Regions from separate parts of the Homo sapiens genome. Here region 2 is linked to region 1. Evidence: promoter capture Hi-C in human tissues and cell types (Jung and others, 2019). All regions are on one chromosome and are shown on one strand. The core of a region is centred on a gene start or on the middle of the fragment in contact, and the rest is flanking DNA. Distances in the headings are between cores, read along the strand shown.

Region 1 (4,877 bases), core at 1,651-4,150:
GAGAACATTTGCCTTCACCTGAAATCTACACAGTGCAGCTGAATTTCCACCAGTCCTCAAGTATAGCCTCCCACAGCCAACCGGAAGAAAACATGACAAAACATTTCACATGATTCGCCCAGCCTCAGTCAGGCTCAGTTAGAAAGAACTAAGTTCCAGGAAGAAGGTGATTGAGAAAGGGGAGTAGCTGCAGTAAGCTCTATCATGCAGGAAGGCCTTAAACAAAATGAAAAAGGCATCAAGTAAAAGATCAATAAATTTGATTGCAACAAACTTTTAAACATTTATAATGACCAAAGACATCATTAGCGTTAATCAGCAAACTAAAAGATATCTGCCACATACATAAAAATAATTTGGGTGCATGGCTCACGCCTGTGATCCCATCACTTTGGGAGGCCAAAGGGGGAGGATCACCCGAGGTCAGGAGTTCGAGACCAGCCTGACTAACATGGTGAAACCCTGTCTCTACTAAAAATACAAAATTAGCTGGGTGTGGTGGCACATGCCTGTAATCCCAGCTACTTGGGAGGATGAGGCAGGAGAATTGCTCGAAACCAGGAGGCAGAGGTTGCAGTGAGCTGAGATCACACCACTGCACTCCAGCCTGGGCAACAAGAATGAAAACTCTGTCTCAAAAAATTTAAACAATAATAAAAATAATAATTTGTATCCAGAATATTCAAAGAATTCCTACAAATCAATAAGAAAAAGACAAAATAAAAGGAAAATGGGCAAAGGGTGTAAACAGACAATTCCCTGCATTTACAAATGATCAGTTAATATATGAAAAGATGCTCAAAATGTAAAAAAAAAATTAACCTTACTAGAAATCAAGAAAACAAGAATTGAAACAAGATAAACTCTATATTTTTAGCCCAACAAATTAAGAAAATTATGATGAATTGCAGCAACCTACTGTTAGTCAGCTGGGGTAGGAGAATCCCGGGGCATATCCTAACGAGCTGCTGATGGGAGTGTAACTTGGTAGAGCCACTTTGGAGGGCAAGGACCTAACAAATTAAAAAATGTATGTACACCATGACCCAGCATCTACAACCCAACATCCACCCTAGAAAACTACACACACGCACAAGGGAAGATTTACGTAAAATGATATTCAATGAAGCATTGTGTGTGACAGCAAACTCGAAATAACCTAAACAGCTATCAGCTAGAAATGGCCAGGTACTCTACAGCACTTACATATAACAGAATATACACAGCACTCTTAATAATACTATTTTAAATAATTCTGGGTAAAAAAATAAGTGGCAGCATTAGTACCATGTACTATTTTTACATATACACATGTAAAAATATGTATGCAAAATTTATATGTATACATAAAAAATCTATGTGTATATGTAAAAAAGGTATGTGTTATATGGTATAACATATATGTTATGTAAAACATATACATAAGCATACATATACATTTTATATAAAACTTTTTTTACAAAAAATGTTTTACAAAGAAGTATTGTTTATTTTCTATGGATAGATTCAGTAGGCATGTTTTGCATGCAAAATAATTGATAACAGTGGTTACCTCTTGGGAGAGGTGAAGGCCGTTGGAGAGAGGATCAATGAACACTTAAGTGCTTTAAAAAAATAATTATTAAGTATATTGGAATATAAAGGAAACCATATACATCCAGCTGTGTCAGGCTTTTTACCAACATGAGTTTCAACACAGGCCTCTACATAGTCTTGGCTTTTTTAGGCACTGATAATAAAGTAAATTTTTATTTGAAAATTCTTGAATAAAGGTTCTTGCTGGTCATACAGTATATTATGTTTTAATCAACAAACTTTAACAGCCCGGAATTTATTATTAGTAATAATGTGTTATATATTATATGTAATGTAATTTGCTATATATTAATATATGTTACTATTTATTATGTATTAGTAAACTGAAAAACACCAATTTGTAAGCGATGAACTTACAAAAATTTACACCTGTCTTTTGCAACCCATAAATACCTAAAAATAACAGCATCTGATAGCAACTTTCTGTGCTGATTGTAGAAATTTCTGTACTGTCTGTACTGTCATGACAACCCTAGCAAAAGCTAAGTACTAGATTAGAGTGTGTGCACAGCTGATTGTGAAGCTGCATGAGAGAGGTGCTTTATTAATCCCCAAAGCTCACTACTGTAATTTATACTGTTAAGAATAAAAACTGAAAACATAAGTGCTTTCCAACTATAAAGTTCAAGTTCAAGGATTCATTGGAAATAAGCCAGAAAGTATATTTTTATTTTAAAAATTAAAACAAACCACCCAAGGAAAATAGTATTCTTAGGTAAAGTGTTTTGTTGTTGTTTTAACTAGCAAGGAAATTCTCAATTTCTATTTCACAGGAAAGAACAATGAAGAATTTTTCCATCACACATACCCAGCCTCCGTTTTGCCTTATCCATTCTCCTGTGTTATTCATTATGAACTCCGCAACAAAATATGAAATCTCCTTATAGGTATCCACATCCGGGGCAATTTGCTGTCGTAGAAGTTTCTTGATGAGAATACCTTCAAATGCAAATATGGTTACAATTCTTCCCCAGTTAATGATGCCGTCTTCAAACTCCTTTTCCATCACTTGGTTGAATAGTGTTCTGGCAGTGTCTACGGACACAACATTAACATTGTCCAAGCATGACTTCAGATTCTTTTCCACTTCTTTTTGGACTGAGAACGCAACATTTTGTAGCACTCTGGACGTTTTGCTTGGACCTGATCCAGGTTGTGGTATCTGTAGGACGCACTGCAGATAGTCCTGAGCCAGCCTGTAAATATATCCAAATTCACAGTCTGTCATCTTCTGCCTGGTGGAGAGCAAAGTCTTGAGCTGGCTCACCTTGAAGCTGTTGAGGCAATGTGCTGAGAATGCTCACTGAGCTTGACTGAGTTATGACACATGATGATACATGGAGGCTGGTGGAATTTCTGTTTGCATCACTTTATAATATCCTTCCTCCTAGTCACTTTCGTGCGTAGGCTGTGTTTCATGTCATGTATGAAAGAGAAAGTTTAAAATGTGAAAGAGGAAAATGTTTCAGAGAAGCCACTTCCTCATCCTGTGATTAATTCAGCTTTGCAAGTCTTAAATGCAGGATGTGGAGAAATTAGAATCCTTGTAGATTGCTGGTGGGAATGTGAAATGGTACAACCCCTGTGAAAATGTTGGCAGTTTCTCAAAAAGTTAAATACAGAATTGTCAAAAGACCCAGCAATTCCATTCATAGGTATACACCCAACAGATACTCAAATACTTACATACGAATGTACATGGCAGCACTATTCACAATAGCCAAGATGTGGACACAACTCAAATGTTCATCAACAGACGAAAGGATAAATAAATTATGGAACATTATTCATCCCAAAAAAGGAATGAAGAACTGATACATGCTTCAACAGGAATGAACCTCAAAAACATTAGGCTAATAGAAAGAAGCCAAACAGAAAAGGTCATACATTATGTGATTCTATTTCTATGAAATATCCAGACAGTTAAATCCATAGGATAGAAAGCAAATTGGTGGTTGACAGGGGCTGAGAAGAGGAAGGAGTAACTGCTTAATGGGTAGAAGGTTTTCTTTTGTGTGATGAAAATGTTTTACAAGGCCGGCCGCGTTGGCTCACGCCTGTAATCCTAGCACTTTGGGAGGACAAGGCGGGCGGATTGCCTGAGCTCAGGAGTTTGAGACCAGCCTGGGCAATATGGTAAATCCCCGTCTGTACTAAAATACAAAAAATTAGCCAGGCGGGTGGCGTGTGCCTGTAATCCCAGCTACTCGGGAGGCTGAGGCAGGAGAATTGCTTGAACCCGGGAGACAGAAGTTGCAGTGAGCCAAGATCACGCCACTGCACTCCAGTCTGGGCAACAGAGCGAGACTCTGTCTCCAAAAAAAAAAAGAAAAGAAAATGTTTTGCAGCTAGATAGAGGTGGAAGTTGCACAACACTGCGAAGGTACTAAATGCCACTGAATTGTTCACTTTAAAATGGTTCTGTGAATTTCAAATTTAAGAAAAGTCTTAAACGCCATCCACGGGGTAAACCGGAGTAACGACAATTTGGAATGGAGACTACAAAACAGCCTGGGTGGCAGAGAACAGGGCCTCTCGAGGTGACTCTGGCAGTACCGCCCTTGATCATTTGTAATTGAGTAAGGATGATACCGAGAGGGAAGAAAAAAATACCCTCTTTGGGCCAGGCACGGTGGCTCACCCCTGTAATCCCAGCACTTTGGGAGGCTGAGGCGAGCGGATCACGAGATCAGAAGATCGAGACCATCCTGGCTAACACAGTGAAACCCCATCTCTACCAAAAATACAAAAAATTAGCCAGGCATGGTGGCGGGCACCTGTAGTCCCAGCTACTTGGGAGGCTGAGGCAGGAGAATCCTTTGAACCCAGGAGGCGGAGCTTGCAGTGAGCTGAGATTGTGCCACTGCACTCCAGCCTGGGCGACAGAGCGAGACTCCATCTCAAAAAAAAAAAAAAGAAAAAGAAAAAGAAAATACCTTCTTTGGTCTTCACCTTCCACCTACTCTAGAATTTCTGATAGAAAACAAAATTCTGCTTTAAGCCTGACTTAATTCACATTTTTAACTCAGGTAAACTATCCGATGTGTGGATTAGAAATTGCAGGACCAGAAAGAGCACTGGACTTACAGTCAGAGGGCCTGGACTCAGTCCCAGCCAAATCTCTCTTTCTTTACTCAGTATGTACCTTGGGTCTGTGCTTAATTTGTAAAATGAGGCAATACATGTTGACCTCAGAGGGTTGAGGTGAAGTTCAAAGAGATGACCTATGTAAAGCCTCTATCACCATGCCTGGTAAAACGTACGTGCCTAATCAAAGCTAG
Region 2 (4,333 bases), core at 693-3,192, 290 kb before region 1:
ACTGTGCTATGAAGAAGATAAAACAGAGTAATGAGATAAAGAGAAGGAAGCGTCTCTGAAGATGTGATATTTGAGCTGGGATCTGAGTGTTGAAGAGAAGCCAGCTGTGCAGGAGTCTGGGGGAAGAACACTCCATGCAGAGGGAATGGAAAATGCAAAGGTGCTGTGGCTAGAACAAACTTGGAAGATTTGAGTGTTTGTGAAATAGAAAATAATAATAATTAATTATTATTATGTAAATATATTATGTGAGTATATTATTTATATTATTTAAATGATATATATTACATAATGTATAATTAATGTCATAATATAATAAATATGTTATTGTAATATAAACATAGTATTACATATATGTAATGTGTGAGCAGCATCATGCAATGCAGAGGGCATGGGGGGTATTCCCCCTGGAGCAGGTAAAATTATGAGGTTAAGTAACCATACATTGATAAGCTATATACAATGTCTTTATCTCTCCACTCAATTTAGAATCTCCAGTACATGTGTATTACTTGGAATGCCAGGTATAAGACAACAGCTATTTATTCATTTCACATTTATTCAATACTTACTTTGTGCCAGATGGAAGGCTAGAATAGGGATAAACAAACTTTTTCTGTAAAGATTGTGAGAGTGAATATTTTAGGCATTGTAGGCCACATAGGCTGTCTCTCACATACTGTTTTGTTCTTACCATGCTCTAAAAATGTAGAAACTGCTCTTAGCGTTAGGGCTGTACACAAAGAGCCTGCCGGTTAAGTTTCACCTGTGGGCTATAATTTGCCAACTCCTGGACTTAAGGTGAACAAGACATGTCCCTACCTTAAAAATGCTCTAAATCTAGTAGGGAAGAAGATAAGAAATTATAATACAGAGTGACAGAGAAGACTTCACAGCAGAATGAGAGGAAGGGAACTTCCTGCATTGTTATAAGGAAGGGCACTTAACTCTATATTGGAAAACCAAAGCATGCTTCCTACAGGAAGTGCCATCTAAGGTAATGAGTAGAAGCTGACCAGGTGAAGAGGGGAAGGTGAATATTCCAGGTTGAAAGCCAGCATTGGCAAAGGCCTGGAAATGAAAGAGACCACAGGACAAATTCTGGGAACTGCAGATCTCTTCATTATCTTTAAAATCAAGGGCTATAAACTCAAATTTCTATAGAGGCCAGGTGGGTACAAATCACAGAGTACATAAAGCAGGCTATGGAAGGAGCCACAGCTCAGCAAGAACACTGCTAATCTTGGTGCCAGTGGCAAGGACACAGTAGGAGGTGATGGAGACGGTGCCCTGTCTAAGGGGCAGCTGGTGCTTAGCTTCTGCCTACTGGGGATGTGGCCCAATGTTAGCAAATCTGATTTTTCAGAAGACAAAAGAAGATGTTGATAGCTTTGATAGTTTCGAAGTTTAAATATCTTTGAAATATTCCATATTGGCACTTGCCTGTAGTCCCAGATAGTTGGGAGAATTAAGTGGGAGGATTACTTGAGCCCAGGAGTTTGAGCAGTGAGCTGTGATCATGCCACTGCACTCCAGTCTGGGTGACAGAATGAGACCGTCTCAAAAAATGTATATATACATATATTAAATATATACAATTTTTTCAAAGATTGGTGATGCATTTTTATTCATTTTAACCACTGTGAAGAAACATGTCTGCACGCCAACTTTGTCCCGCTGGCCTCTGGTTTGCAGGCTCTGGGCTTCATCAAAAAGGACCAGAGATGAGACTAAAAGGGTCAGTCAGGGTCATGTATACTGGCTGATAAACAAAAAAAAGAAGAAGAAGCGGAAGAGGAAAAAGAAGGAGGAGGAAGAGGAGGAAGACCAGAGGAGGAGGAGAGAAGAAAAAGGAAAGGCTGGCCACTTCTCAGAGCTCAGGTGTAATTTGATGCTATGGTGCGTTGCATATTTTTTAAGGGAGAGGTCATGTGGATCAGCTAAGCTGTGAAAGTTGAACTTGTTTTTTTCACCAAATGAGTCTGTTCATTTATTCCTTCATTAGCAAATGTCTACTGCACACCAACCATGTGCCAGCTCCCTTCTAGGCATTTAGTGTACATCAGTGAACAAAGCAGACTGATCCTTGCCCTCAAAGAATTTCTGTTCCAGGGAGTGAGAGGTGGTAGAGGAAGACAAAAACATTAAACGTAAATACATAAATCAATGTTTTAGGAGATGATAGGTTTCATAGAGGAAATAAGGGAAGGCATGAGGGATAGAGAGGAGGTGGAGAGGAACATGTAGTTGCAACTTGAAATAGACGAGTCAGGGCAGGCCTCCTGGAGAACAGAATTACAGATGAGGGAGTTGGCCATGCAGATATCTGGATCAGCATTACAGCAGAGGGAACAGCCAGTGCAAAGGCCCTGAGGACCGAGTGTGCCTGGTGTGTTGGAAGACCTACTAGGAGACCATGTAGCTAGAGGATAAACAGGGGGAGAGCAGTAATAGCAGCAGTAACAGTGGAAGGTAGAAAAAATAGTATTGGCTAACTCCTGCAGCTGTGTGCATATCTGTCAGAAGAAGAAAACCTCCATCACCCACAAAAGCCTCTCTATAAAGATACCGTCTCCAGCAACTGTTCCAAGGAGGCTATCAGCTTCCAGGCAGGCCCCAGGGCACTCTAGCCTAAGCCTGACACCTCGGAATCCTAGATTCCTAGACCAGTCAGTGGTCCTCAAACTAGGGAAGGCACATCTCTAGGGGTTGTTGGAGACTTTCTAAGGGATACCTGGACATGGACGGGCTAAAAGGAATCATCGCCCAAGCACTCAGCCTCTGTGTAATCTGTACTAAAGCTGATCTGCCAAAGAATGACCCCCTTGCTCACCAACCCTTTGTCCACTTGACAAAAGAAAAGTAAAAGCACGCCCATCCTCAGTCTCACTACGAGGCATTGTCGAAGGTTTAAAAGCCTCCAGAGCACCCAGCAGGGGAAAGCCCCTCAGTGAGTCACTGCAGCATCAGATCCTTGGGGCTTCCGGCTTTCCTGCTTACTTATTTTCCTGTTGGGGTGCAGGAGTGTTAGGCATGCAGCCTCCTTGGGATGTTTTGAATTAGGTAAGAGTAGAGAGCAGTAGTGGGAGTAATAACAATTTTTGTTTAAAGACTTTGCCTCTCCTGTCCCCAGGCTATTGTCAAAGAACACATTGCTCTTAAGGGAGAATCTTGTTAGAGCAAAACAGACAATGCCGGCAGAGAGAGGGAATTTTACAATCTGCCTCTTTCACATATTTAAACATAGGCAATCGCCTGGCAAGGTGGCTACAACTCCACCTGCCAGCCGCCATGCTTTCCATGAACTCCACCGTGTTACTTGGTCCAGATTAAGGAATAAGCTTTTGTGGAGAGGAGAATATTCACAAGGCCTGAGCCAATAAGGGAAGAGGGGCCAGGCTCCCAGGCTCCTGTGGGCCAAGGCCTGGGGATTCACTGGTCAGACAGCCCATGTCTACCTTCCAGGGGAGGAGTTGTGTCTGGGACTGGGTCATTTTATAGAGCATCCGTAAGAAAGCAGCCTTGCCCATGGGGGACAGGTTGTTTGGGGCTTGGCATTTGGCTCTGATGTGCCAGCTGTTTACTGGGGTTGTCTGGCCTGCAAGCCGGCCAGCACCTGGGGCCTTGTAAAGTCCAGCTCTGTCTATCCGGGAAGGAAGCCACCAATCCCTATACCTCCCCAGGAACTAAATAGCAGGGACAGGGAACCCCCGTTCTCTTTCTTTGCTCATTTCAGATTTCTCCTTCCCAATAAAGCTCCTAAACCCATACCACGGGACACTGTGGAATTTGTTTAGAGCCCTGAACATTGGAAGTGGTGACCCCTAAGGGACCCAACAGCCCCTTGCAGATGAACACTGCAGAGAGAAACCCTGCATGCTGAGGTTATGGCCTTTTGGAAAGAGCAGAAAAGATGAAGTAGGTTATTCCAGGGATGGGACATGTGCCCCATGGAGTAAAAGATGTCACTGGGATAGCAATCAGGCTTAGTTGGACCACTTCAAATGGAGCATGACATTGGAAGAATAAATGATCAGGTGGCTTTCGTGTCTAAAAGTCAACACAGCCCTGGAGGGGAAGTCATCCAGCACTGGGGGATGGTGGCTGGGGGCTGCGTGGTCTGCCAAAGGCACCAATATCCTCCCACCTCACTATGGGTCATGGGTGTCTAGGAATCCCCTCCGAGATTGCTAGCAGGGTTGCAGCAGCCTAACACCTTAGAAATCACCCAGGAGTTTGGAGAGGTCTGGTATAGATAGGGATGTAACAACACTTAAAAAAATTAGGGTTCCCTGTCCTTCAGTCAAACCACCACCACAGGAGCAATGGCTGG

What was found. Contacts are between HindIII fragments. The study calls those that stand out against the background at their distance.
Region 2: a contact is called between a fragment that was not itself captured here and the fragment with the promoter of BCL2A1 in region 1, in 1 of the 25 tissues and cell types used here (IMR-90 fibroblasts).

The regions. Positions count from the first base shown.
Region 1 is chr15:79,968,296-79,973,172 of GRCh38, forward strand. It overlaps BCL2A1 (BCL2 related protein A1), which reads right to left and starts at 2,901. Exons shown (of 2, transcript NM_004049.4): 1 at 2,405-2,901. The coding sequence starts at 2,824. RefSeq lists enhancers at 1-20, 2,325-3,524. The HindIII fragment of the contact is 21,858 bases long and covers 1-4,877 here.
Region 2 is chr15:79,677,968-79,682,300 of GRCh38, forward strand. No RefSeq gene overlaps it. Among named protein-coding and RNA genes, the nearest start is that of TRC-GCA5-1, 65 kb to the right of the region's middle. The HindIII fragment of the contact is 6,632 bases long and covers 1-4,333 here.